2 separate regions of the Homo sapiens genome follow, and region 2 is linked to region 1. The links are contacts of gene promoters, found by promoter capture Hi-C in human tissues and cell types (Jung and others, 2019). All regions are on one chromosome and are shown on one strand. The core of a region is centred on a gene start or on the middle of the fragment in contact, and the rest is flanking DNA. Distances in the headings are between cores, read along the strand shown. Region 1 holds the start of ELF2 (E74 like ETS transcription factor 2). Region 2 has its middle 31 kb from the start of RAB33B-AS1.

Region 1 (6,586 bases), core at 1,052-3,551:
CAACTATGCCATTTTATTTTAGGGACCTGAGCATCCATAGATTCTGGTGTCTGAGGAAGGCCCTAGAACAAATCCCCAACAGATACCGATGGACAATTGTAGTAAAAACCACTGAATTGTTCACCTGCAAAATGGAGTAATTTTTTAAAAAATTAATAAACCCACCAAACTGTACACTTTAAACTGAACTGACTAGTATGTGAATTATATCATCGTGAAGCTGTTACTCCTCCAAAAATGGTATACAACATGAGCAGGTAAAGCCACTAACATTAGCAGACCCTACAGGCCACAGGTACCAATCTGTTTACTTAGGACAGAAAAATCCCAAAGTTACAAATTCTTTCCAACCATACTCAAGCTGACTATTTTGTAAATGAGTATTTATGTCTGAAATGAAAGGCAATGATAAATCCAATGAGTTAAATCACTAAACTTAAAAATAGGTTGACATAAATATTCAAACTTCAAATGCCCAGGATATTCCAATTTTCTATTTCATGTGTTTAACTACTAGATATCGTCTCAATAATATTTACATGAATGTACTCTGTAAACTGTAATGCTCTATAAAAAGTTTTATTATTCCTAAATTCCCTTAAATGTAATTTAATGGTTTCCAGTCCTATATAAGTCATTCTACCTTTTGAAGAAACTCTGAAACACAAATATCCAATCCTTTCTTAGTAAAGCATACATCCTTCCGTGATTCTGGCACCAAAGAAAGTGCATAATTTACTTCAGGATAGAGAATCACAGATAAAAAGGAAAACAAATCTGATTATCAAACACACGATTACTATTCTCTCATCACCGGATTACAATTTAAACCATTAAGCTGAAGTAAATGTTCATGAACACAAGAAAGGGGGGAATTTTTAACAGTTTTACAATGACGTGTCCCCCTCTTCCTCATTTAATGAAGTACTAAACTTAAAGGCTATTCTGCAGCGAATCTGCCTCCTAGAAAGAGTCCATCCAGGATGCTGGCAGAGGGAAAAAGATTAGAAACTGTGCGATCTGGATTATTCTTGGTGTCACGGAATATTTTTTGAGTCCTTTATGGACATGGAATAAAAATGCCCAAATGGAGCAGAAGAGAGGGCTCGGCTACCCTGATCACAAAGCTCCTGGGGTAGAGTCAGCATCCAGCCCTGGCAGAGCCCTCCCTGTCCTCCTTCCGCGCCCCTAGACCATCCCGTCGCGCGGTCCCTGAGGACCAGCTTCGCGAGGATCCAGAAGGCGGTCACTGGACGTGCCTGTTACGAGCCCGTTTTTGTTTTGCTTAAGAAACAGATTCCGATCCGAGCAAAGCCTCCCTACCTCCCGGGGAATAGGGGGAGATGGCAGCACGGTGCCGGCGTGGAGAGCGAGAATAAAAGAACTGCCGAGTACAACCTGTCGTGCAAGCTAGCAGCGCCGGGAAGGAAAGGTAAGCGGCGGCGATAAGGCACGACAGGGAAGGAAACTGGTGTCCAGCGCCCCCCCCCGCCTGCCCGCCACCCAGAGCGGCCGGAGCCTCCCAGGTCCCGCCCCGAGCTCGCCGCCCAGCCCCGGCGCCGGCCGCAGACTCCCGCCCTACACAAACCCTCCCAGGACGCGCTTCCTCCGGAGCCGGACCCCCGCCCTGGCCTCCCCGCGGGATGAGGCGGGTCAGTTCAGTCCGCTTCTCGGCAGAGGTGACTCGCGCAGAGATGTAAACACGGAGAGACCAGCTGCGCTCGGCCCATCCCCCCCGCCGGGGTCTGTAACCTCTTCCCTCAGCCCTGCCCCGCGCCCCGCGCTCCCCGCGGGCAGGCGCGCAGCGCGCCTTCCCCTTTCTCCAAGTCCCGCTCCGCGACCGTTGCCTGGGGACACTCAGCCCCCTTCCCCCAGCCCCCGGCCGGTGTCACCGCCGCAGCCGCCGGAAAACCCCTCCGCAAACCCCGAAGCAAACAACACAAGCGCGGGGCGGGGGCGCGGAGGGAGGCGGCGGCAGTCGGGACAGCCAGGCTTTATCGCCGCGCCCTTCGCGCTCCCTCTCACCAGCCTCGGCTGCCCGCGCTCTTACCTGCTCTCCGCGACGCCTGGGAAGACCGCGGCGTCCTTTTCCCTCTCAGCAGGGCCGCGGACTAGCCGCCGCCGTTGGCCGAGCGTCCGGAGGGAGCCGGGGCCTCCCCAGCAGCCCGAGCCGCTCCACAGGGAGAGAAGGAGACAAAACAGAGGCTCGCCGCCCCGCGCAGCGACCCCCGCCCGCGCCGCCCCACCGACCCCCAACCGCCTAGGCGACGGCGGCGACACAGAGCTTGGCGCTGGGAGCAATGGTTGCCCCCGCCCCGCTCCGCTCCCGGCCCCCTCCCTCCACCCCCCGCCTCGGCTCCTCCCCCTCGGCCTCCTGCCGCCTCCACCAGGACACTGGAGTCCGCCTCCCCCTCCCCGCCAGCTCAGAGTGCTCCTCCCCTCCCCACGCGGCGGGGGGGCGGGGGCGGCACCGCCAGTCACCGCAGCGCCTGTCAAACGCGGGCCGGCTATTTATACCCCGCGGGGCCCCGCCGCCCTCGGGCCCCCACCAGCCCGCCGAACCTGCTTCTTTTGCTGTCTTGAATCCCGCCCTCTTCTCCTCGCCCAACTTCTCCCAAACCCGCCTTCCCAGGTAAAGACGCTCGTCACTTGTCCGGCTCCTTGCCCAGGGCTCCCCGATCTCGCTCTCCACTCCAGCCCCGGATTGGTGCAGGGGGCTCTGCCGCACGGGGCAGGCGTGTGAGGCCGATGGGGCCGCGCGTGCACCTGCAGCGCCCGCCGGCTTTCCCCCGCCGGCCGGGACCGCACGCACACACCCTCGCCACTCAGGGCCCCCGCAGGCCCCGCCGTCACCGCATCCCCAACTCAGGACTCTCGCCCTTCTCCGGAGACGGCCCCACAGTCGGGCAGTCTGACAGTTACAGGGGGGCGAGGTTTTGCAAAAACTCCTAGCCCGGTCTTTCCAGTTCCCACTCCTCAGCCTTGGCTTAGTGAAAGGTGGGGGTTCGGGCAGGAGCGCGACGCCGGCCCCGCCCCGGCCGGTGACGCACGTGGCGCACCGCCCCGCCAGCCTCGCGCCCCTCGGCGCCGCCAGCTCCTCCTCCCCGCTAGCAAAAGCCGGGCGTAGTACACCCGCGACCCCGCCCCATTCCCAGAAATTACCACCCGCCCAACAGCCCGGCCGCGCGGCGGTTGGTGCCGGCGTTTGCTGGCTGTCGGGTGGCTGGGCCCAGCGCGCAGCTGCGGAGCGCGGCGGGCGGCCCCTTGGAGCTGCCCGGGGAGCTGCGGGCACTCGCACCTAGCCATTGTCGCTCCTTGCGCGGTCCGCAACGGAGAAGTAACTCAAGTCTGAGTGTTGTTGGTGCGAGAATGAGAGAGTGTTCTGGTGTGGGAGTATTTTGGCCCAAGTGCCTGCGAATTCGAAAACGAAAACCCAGCAGTGGCTGCACGCTTCTGGTTTCCACACTTTCACACAAAGGGGAGCCTTCGAGCGGGGCACTCTCACGCGCCTTCAAGTGCACAAAAGCCAATGACACGGTGCCGTGGGTTGCCCTGTGTAGGAGCGTCTCTTTAATGGGCTTTGTAGGCACAGTTAATGCATACAAACGCCTCAGTCTATTTCTTCACCACCACCATTCCCCGCCGCGGCGTTTTCTGTATTTGTTTCTTTAACAAAGAGCACAGCCTGTCCGGTGCGCGCGGGGCTCCTTTTGCTCCCCTCCAGGGCTCCTGCAGCCTCGCCGCGATGGACCTGGCACCTGGCGCGGTATTCACCAGCTGATTTCTGGGCTCCAGCGTTACCCTTTTTACGGCTTCACAACCAGTCTGGAGCAAAGAAGAAACACTGAGGAATATAAGTGATAGCTGTTCTCTTGAAAGGGACGTGGGAACCGTGGAAATCACCCTAGAGTAAGGCTCAAATGTCAGAAAGCTGCAGGAGGCTCCAGATTTAAATCCCTGAAGAGCCTAAGAATGTAATGATCTCTTTCTTTTGTTAATACTGCTGTTGCCTCTATTTTCTTGGGGGTGAGTCTTCTCTTCCTTTCTTAAAAAGCAACTCTGGGCCGGGCGCAGTGGCTCACGCCTGTAATCCCAGCACTTTGGGAGGCCCTGGAGGGTGGATTGCCTGAGGTCAGGAGTTCGAGACCAGCCTGCCTAACATGGTGAAACCCCGTCTCCACTAAAAATACAAAAATTAGCTGGGCGTGGTGGCACACGCCTGTAGTCCCAGCTCCTCGGGAGGCAGGAGAATCGCTTGAACCCCGGAGGTAGAGGTTGCAGTGAGCCGAGATCGCAACACTACACTCCAGCCTGGGCGACAGAGCAAGACTCCTTCTCAAAAAAAAAAAAAAAAAAAAAAAAAGGCCGGGCGCGGTGGCTCACTCCTGTAATCCCAGCACTCTAGAAGGCCGAGGCGGGCGGATCACCTGAGGTCAGAAGTTCAAGACCATCCTGGCTAACACGGTGAAACCCCGTCTCTACTAAAAATACAAAAAATTAGCCGGGTGTGGTGGTGTGTGCCTGTAATTCCAGCTACTCGGGAGGCTGAGGCAGGAGAATCGCTTGAACCCGAGAGGCGGAGGTTGCAGTGAGCCCAGATCGCACCATTGCACTCTAGCCTGGGCAACGAGAGCGAAACTCCGTCTCAAAAAAAAGCAAGTCCGAGGGCTCTTATTCTTATTTAAGAAATTTTTACTCTTGAACACAGAGGAAACCTGGAGACCGTGACTGTTAATCAAAGATCCTCTTAACTCTTGACAAAGTTTTCTGGATTCCTGAGTTCTAAATCATGGGACTGTTGACACCCTTTTGAACTAAAGAATTTGTAACAATTTGGTAACATTCAAATCTTTAATACACAATAAACAGGATTCTGCAAACAGAGCACCCTTTCTAAGGGAGTCTTTTTATCTCACTTCTTGTAAATAACTTATCACTTATGGGAACCATTGCCCAATTTGATATTTGTAAGGAATTAATTAATAATCAATAATATTGCATCTTCATAACATAACATAGCATACTAAGGAGCCGGCAAAGACAAAGACTGATTCCTGTTGTTAGGGACAGATATCACCTGCCAAGTCACATAATTTCTGTTGTCAGCCACGTTGAGAAGAAATTCTCTCCCACTGCCGATTGGCAGTAAGCTGGAAAGTCCCAGGTGGATAACAGTGGTAGATAACATTATTGTTCCCAATTTTTCACTACTCCATGCATGCATGCCATTTGAAATACGGCTTTGTAGTTCCTCTCAGTAGAGATAGGATGTTTCTCCATCCTGTTCATGTTGAGCTTAGATCAGTCCATTTGCTTTTGGTCAAAGGAAGATAGGCAGAAGTGAGTGTGACAGTTCTGAGCCTGGCCTCAAGAGGTATTTCATGTTTCTCCTTCCCTCTCTGGCACTCTTGTTTTTCACAATGTGAAGAACATACCTGGCTAGTTTGCTGGTCAAAGAAATATGAAGCAGGTCTGAAGCCAGTCCCAGCTTGGGGTCAGCAACCTAGAGAATAAAGGATTGTTGTTTCAAGCCGTGTTTTGGAGTAATAGCGTTTTGGAGTAATAGTGTTTTGGAGTAGTTGGTTCCTGGAATTAGTGTTGTGATAGCTGACTGAAACAACAGCAGAAAGAGCAATCTGCTTCCTTCATATTGGCCTGCAAGGTGCCTAACTTGGTGTGTCTCAGGCAGCTCTTTGGCTATGGTTCTTAAACACATCCCTTATGGAGGCCAGCGGAGTAAGGAACCCAGAAATTTTACAGCAAGCTTGTCCAACCCAGGGCCTGCAGGCTGCATGCGGCCCTGGACCGCTTTGAATGCAGCCCAACACAAATTTGTAAACTTTCTTAAAATACTTTTTTGCGATTTTTTTTTTAAGCTCATCAGCTATCATTAGTGTTAGTGTATTTAATGTGTGGCCCAAGATAATAATTCTTCCAGTGTGGCCCTGGAAAGCCAAAAGATTGGACACCCCTGGTTTACAGTAAAGCATTCTAGAGAACAGGGGTCAGAAGGAAAAGTCTAGTGTGACCAGTAGTCCTAGTAGCAAGCTAATGATCATGGAATAGGAAATCTCTGTTGTAACTGGATTGCTTTTGCTGTTTTTTATGTTATATAGTTTTTTATGTTATATAGTTTATTTTTTAATTATTTTTATATTTTATTTAATTATTTTTATTATAGTTTATTTTTTAATTATACAATGATTCATTAATACATTCTCATCATCAATTTTCAAATAATTCAAAATAAACTTTTTAAAACCCAAGTTCACCTTCCCTCTCCATTTCCCTTCCCACTTCTCACTTACCCTTCACACTTACGCAGCCATCCCCTACCTCTACTTTTCCACAGATAACCATAAATGAAAATTTAGCCTTTAAGCTTCTAGGCCTTTTTCTGTGCATGTATATACATATACATATATTTATATACTAAATATAAATGATTATATGCATATTAGGTATAATGCTTTTATACTTCTTTTCTCTGTGTTATTTCTCCCTTTGTTTTCTTCAATATATAGGAAAGTGATTTTTTTTAAAATTATTTCATCCTTGGCTGGGTGCTGTGGCTACATCTGTAATC
Region 2 (6,586 bases), core at 2,719-5,218, 250 kb after region 1:
CTGTCATTATTTTTAACATTAACAATTCATCTATTACCTTAGCTATGGATGGTGCTATGTAATTTGCCCTGCCTGCTCCTTCACCTTCACATCCTGCCACTCTCCCCTGTTAAGTCAGAAACTGTGAAGTGTCTTAGAGTTTGTCCTTCTTGCAAGCTAATAGGTTAGCTTGCCACAGTTTCATATACATATACTGCCAGAAGACACCAGACTGCTGGGCTGGTGCCATAAAAGATTTGCTACTGAAAGCACAAAGCATTTACAACACCTTGTGTCATTTCCCCATGCCCCATTTCCCGTAAGGCAACAGATGTTTCCTGTGCAGTGGGTTGCATCACAGGAGAAGAATCTTAAATTTAGAAGCCTCCAAGCTTTTATCAAAGCTGCTGGTGACCTACCCATTCCTCCCATTCAGGAGAGAAATTATTCATTATCTTGAAATGTAAGTGAATTTCCTCTGGGAAGAGGAAGAAGGCCCCTCTAGGTTTATCACCCTGGAATGTAACACACTCTGGGGTTTGGGAGGTGGATATTAATATCATTATGCGCTTTCTCACCTACAGAAGACTAGTCTGAACTTGTGGCAGGAACCTAGCCAGCTTGATTGCCTGCTAAAACAAAAATATCAACATTCTTAATAGGATTTAAATAAGATCCAGCATCTCAAAACAGAATATTCAAAATATCCATGATACGGTCCAAAATTACAAAGCAAACAAACAAAAAAAAAAACAACAAGAAAATCTCAATTCATATAGGGAAAAAAAAGGACAATGCTGAGATAACACAGATGATAAAATTGTCTGATGAAGGCTTTAAAGCAACTACTAATATTTGTTAGGAGTCTATTCTCCATTGGTCTCTTGCATTTCTACAGGTGTTCTAGGCAAAGGCATTAACAGCTTTTTCTCTGAACTATCTTTTTTAGCTGTTTGTATAGCAAACATCCTTGGAAGATAGAATGTCTTCCTTTGGGACCAAGGACAGATTTTTTTCCTTCCAGGATGAAAAAAAAAAGATAATGTCTCTCTCCAGGGCAAGGCTGGGCAGGTTTGCTGGCCCTTTATTGAAGACTGGTGTTTCCCACAGCATTCATAAATCCCACTACATATACAGGTATCACCAGGCCCTCACAGCATCACTGTGTGGGAACTGAGGCTCAGAAAACTGGGTTAAATGCTGATACTCTGCCTCCTGCTATTCGTGTGGGTAATAAACTGTCCTTTGTCTCTGACCCAGGAGTCTCGTGTCTTCTGTCACTATTCATGAAATTGTGGCAGCCTAACTTGTTAACTTGCAAGTAAGGTAAAATATCAGACCCTCCAAAGTTCTTGACTTTGTTATAACAATTCTCCTACAAGCAGTCACAAGCATTTTTGAAGCCAATAAGAAAAAAATAGAAAGTATCAGCAAATAAATAGAAGACATAAAGAAGAATCAAATGGATATTTTAGAACAGAAAAATACAATAGCCAACATTTAAAAAAAATTCACTGGATGGTTTCAATAGCAAGGTAAACATGACAGAGTCAATGAACTTGTAAATAGATCAATAAAAATTAACCAATCTGAACAGCAGAGAGAAAAAAGATTTGAAAAAACAATGAGTAGAATCTCAGAGACCTCTCGGATAATGACAAAAGGTGCTGAAAAATTTAGAATAATGGAAGAAAAGGTCTCAAATTTGGCAAAAGACAAATCTACAGATTTAAGAAGTTCAACAAACCCCAAACAGGTTTAACACATAAATTTATACCCAAACACATCACAATCAAAATGCTGAAAATGAAGACAAAGAAAAAAATCTTGGAAGTAGCTAGAGAAATTCAAAGTACTACCTACACACAAACAATCTGAATCACAGCAAATCTCTCAGCAGGATCCATGCAAACCACAGAAGTGGCACAATAATTTTTTTTTTTTTTTGAGACGGAGTCTTGCTCTGTCGCCCAGACTGGAGTGCAGTGGTGTGATCTAGGCTCACTGCAAGCTCTGCCTCCTGGGTTCATGCCATTCTCCTATCTCAGCCTCCCAACTAGCTGGAACTACAGGCACCTGCCACCACGCTCGGCTAATTTTTTTGTATTTTTATTAGAGACGGGGTTTCACCATGTTAGCCAGGATGGTCTCAATCTCCTGACCTCATGATCCACCCACCTTGGCCTCCCAAAGTGCTGGGATTACAGGCATGAGCCACCGCGCCCGGCCAGAAGTGGCACAATAATTTTAAAGCACTGAAAGTGTCAACACAGAATACTACATCTAGTGAAAATATCCATCAGGAATTCAGGTGAAATAATGGCATTCTCATATGAAGACAAACTAAAAGAATTCATTTCTAGCAGAGCTGTTCTAAAATAATTGCTAAAGAAAATTCTTCAGACAGAGGGAAATGATACCAGAAGGAAACCTGAAAACATCAGGAATGAAGGAAGAGCACCAGAAATGGTAAATATCTGTGTAAAAATAGTAGTCTATTCTCCTATTCTCCTCTTAAGTTTTGTTTGTTTTTTAAATTATACTTTAAGTTCTAGGATACATGTGCAGAATGTGCAGGTTACATAGGTATATATGTGCCATGGTGGTTTGCTGCACCCATCAACCCATCATCTACATTAGGTATTTCTCCTAATGCTATCCCTCCCCTAGTACCCCATCCCCCAACAGGCCCCGGTGTGTGATGTTCCCCTCCCTGTGTCCATATGTTCTCATTGTTCAACTCCCACTTATGAGTGAGAACATGTGGCGTTTGGTTTTCTGTTCCTGTGTTAGTTTGCTGAGAATGATGGTTTCTAGCTTCATCCATGTCCCTGCAAAGGACATTAACTCATCCTTTTTTATGGCTGCATAGTGTTCCATGGTGTATATGTGCCACATCTAGTCTATCATTGACAGGTACTAAGTTCTTTAAAAATATATTTGATGGTTGAAAATAACTGTACCATTGTCTAATGGGGTTTTAAACATATGTAGACGTAATTCATGACAACTCTAACGTAAGGGGTACAGGTTAAGTAGACCTATATGTAAGGTTTCTACATTCTACTTAAAATGGGGGGAAAAGACATTCTAAGCAGATTCAAAAAGCTAAATATGTATATTTGCATTATGTGAAACTCATGTTTGCCTCAGGGTCTTTCCAGTTGCTTTTCCTTTTGTCTGAAAAAATATTCCCCTATATATACACATCATTTGCTCCCTCAACTAATTCATGTGTCCGCATAAATGCCACCTCTTCAAGGAAGCCTTCCCTTAACCACCCTCATAAAATAACCACCTCTTCCCATTAGATTCTACCTTTATATTTGATTTTTTCTTCATTCATTTATCATTATCCAAAATTTGATATTTTTGTTAATTTATCTTCCCACTAGCATGCAGGTGATGGTCTGCCTGTTCACTTCTGTATTCCCAGGGCCTAGACCAATGCACTGGTTTTTGTTTGTTTAACCTATCAAGAACTGAGAGAGTTGCATAGAAATTTGCCACCTCCTGTAGTTCTAACATTTTTTGCTGTATATAGCTTAAGTCCATTTTATTAGTTACAAACAGGATTAGAATTTTTCTGTTTTTTTTCTGGTGAAAAAAACCTTTTATCAGTAGGTAATGACCTTTTTATTCTAATAATCTTTTTTTGTCTTAAAATCTTTTTTCTGAAATTAATGTATGTATGTGAATTCTTTGTATTAAGATCTGCCTGGTATATGTTTTTCTATCTCTTATCTTCTACTGTTTTGCCTGTATGTTTTCAGATTCTTGTATATGTCATACAGCTAGATTTTTCTTTTCATTTCAGTCTGACAAACTCTATCTTTTAATTGGTAAATGTCATACATTTATGTTTATTGTGATTCTTGATATAGTTGGATTTGTTTATATATCTTTTTTGTTTATATTTGCCTTGCTTTTTCTGAGCTACTATTTTTATAGCCCCAACGTTTTTGCATTTTTTTTTTTTTTTGAGACGGAGTCTCGCTCTGTCGCCCAGGCTGGAGTGCAGTGGCGTGATCTCGGCTCACTGCAAGCTCTGCCTCCCGGGTTCATGCCATTCTCCTGCCTCAGCCTCCCAAGTAGCTGGGACTACAGGCGCCCGCCACCATGTCTGGCTAATTTTTTGTATTTTTAGTAGAGACGGGGTTTCACCGTGTTAGCCAGGATGGTCTCGATCTCCTGACCTCGTGATCTGCCCGTCTCAGCCTCCCAAAGTGCTGGGATTACAGGCGTGAGCCACGGCGCTGGCTGTTTCTGCATTTTTAAAAAACTGACTTTATGGTTAGATTTTTTAAATTCCATTTTTCCTCCACTGAATTGGAATTCATAGCTCTGTATTTATTCCTTTTTTTTTTAACAACTGTCCCTGCATTTTATAAGTGTCTAACTTAACAAAATGTAAAGGCAAACATATCTTAACTTTCCTTTGAAACGAAGTAATGATCTTAGAATAATTTTAATTACATTGACCCTCCCCCAAATGCCTACTTGCTATTGTTATTGGAGGCATTAGTTCAAAACTTCACAAATCGGACCTTATTTTTCTAGACTGATGTTTGGACTGACAAGCTTGTTCACCATTTTATTCACTCACCATTCTATTTTGTACTTCAGACCATTCTTTTATGATAATTTCCTTTTTTTAAGCTCTGACTTAACAAAGCACTTATATTCCAGGTTTGGTTCTAAGTGCTTTATTTTATATTAGTTCATTTAATCCTCATAACAATTCCATGAATACAATTATTGTCAAAATTTTACAAGTGAGAAAAAAAACTGAAGCACAGAGGTGTTAACTCACTTGTCCAGTGTTCCACAGCTAGCAAATGGTGGAATAGGGATTCACACCTATGGAGTCTCCAAAGTGCATATTCTTAACTCCTGTGAAATACTATCTCTCAACTACAGTCACACATCACTTAATGATGGGATACATTCTGAGAAAGGTGAAATGTGTCCTTACGTGATTTCATCATTGTGCAAACCACAGACTGTACTTACACAAACCTAGATGGTATAGCCTACTACATATTTAGACTATATGGCATAGCCTTTTGCTCCTAGGCTACAAACCTGTATAGCATATTACTGTACTGAATAGGCAACTGTAATACGAGTATGTATTTGTATATCTAAACATAGAAAAGGTCCAGTAAAAATACAGTATTACAGGTTGCGTATCCCTAATCCTAAATCCTTAGGACAAGAAAATTTTGGTTTTGAATTTTTTTTTTATTTTGGAATATTTGCATGATACTTAGTGTTGAGCATCCCTAACCTGAAAATCCAAAGAAATGTTCCAAGGAACCTTTCCTTTGAGTATCATGTTGGCACTCAAAAAGTTTCAAATTTTGGAGTATTTTGGATTTTGGATTTTTGGATTAGCAATACTCAGCCAATATAATCTTATGGGACCACCATTGTATATGCGGTCTGTTATTGACCAAAACTTTGTCATGTAGTGCATGACTATATGTCATTTAGGAGTTTTGTGCATATCTCTGAGCTAAACTCTCAATTATCACTTATCTTTAAATGTCTCTATTTCACTCTTCTTAAAAGGTAGTCTGGGCAAGTACATAATTCTAGTTGACCATTATCTTTTGGCACTTGAAAGGTATTATTCCATTAACTTCTGGTTTCCATTGATGCTGATAATAAATCCACTGTCATTTTCACTGCTGTTCTTTTGCAAGTGATCTGCCCTTTCTAGCTGCTTGTAAGATCTTACAAATTCTGCAGGTTCTTTATACAATGTCATTATACATTTCTGTTTATGTATCCTGCTTTCATTATCTTGTGACTCCCAGATCTGTTAATTCATTTTTTTCATCATTTCTGCAAAAATCACAGCACTATTTATCTAAATGATACCTCTCATTAGAACACTTCTTACCAGTGGGAGGTAAAGGGCAGGGATTGACTAGCAAGGGGCATAAGGGAATTTTCTGAAGAGCAGTATATGGTTTTTTTTGACAGTTTGTGTTACACAGGTATATGCACTTGTAAAAATTTACCAAATATTGTACTTAAGATCTGTGCATTTTATTGTATGTACATTTTAAATACAAAAAAGCTATAGAACAATACTGAATACTAATGATGAACATACTAAAATGTTTAGTGGTGATGTCTACAACTTACTCTGAAATGCATAAAAAATAGGATTGATGGATGGTTAAGTGGATAGCTATATGATACAGTAAATATAACAAAATGTTCTAGAATTAATTGGTAAATGTAAAAGTTCACTGTGTAATTCTTTCAACTTTTCTGTATGTTTGAACAATTTCACAAAATATTAGGGGGCAGGGAGTATTGCCTCTACTTTTTTCCTTCTTTTCTTTCTTTCTGAGATTTCAATTAGTCATATGTGTGACTTTCTTATCCAAGCTTCCATCTCTTAATATTGTTTTCATATTTTTACTTCCTTGTCTCTCCTTAGTATACCCTGGGTAATTTTTAAAGATATCTTCTCATTTATTTTTTAAGAGACAAGGTCTCCCTCAGTCGCCCAAGCTGGAGCACAGTGGCATAATCATAGCACTCTGAAGCCTCAAACTCCTGGGCTCAAGTCATGCTCTGCTTTAGCCTT

What was found. The method cuts DNA at HindIII sites, captures the fragments that hold promoters and counts their contacts. A contact is called where the count stands out against the background at its distance.
Region 2: a contact is called between a fragment that was not itself captured here and the fragment with the promoter of ELF2 in region 1, in 1 of the 25 tissues and cell types used here (thymus).

Annotation. Positions count from the first base shown.
Region 1 is chr4:139,174,917-139,181,502 of GRCh38, forward strand. It overlaps ELF2 (E74 like ETS transcription factor 2), which reads right to left and starts at 2,302. Exons shown (of 10, transcript NM_001331036.3): 1 at 2,051-2,302. It overlaps LOC105379412 (a long non-coding RNA gene), which reads left to right and starts at 1,239. Exons shown (of 4, transcript XR_007058273.1): 1 at 1,239-1,432. RefSeq lists an enhancer at 1,273-1,322, silencers at 1,923-2,882, 2,893-3,272 and a cis regulatory region at 3,639-3,763. The HindIII fragment of the contact is 12,940 bases long and covers 1-6,073 here.
Region 2 is chr4:139,419,313-139,425,898 of GRCh38, forward strand. No RefSeq gene overlaps it. Among named protein-coding and RNA genes, the nearest start is that of RAB33B-AS1, 31 kb to the right of the region's middle. The HindIII fragment of the contact is 3,007 bases long and covers 2,466-5,472 here.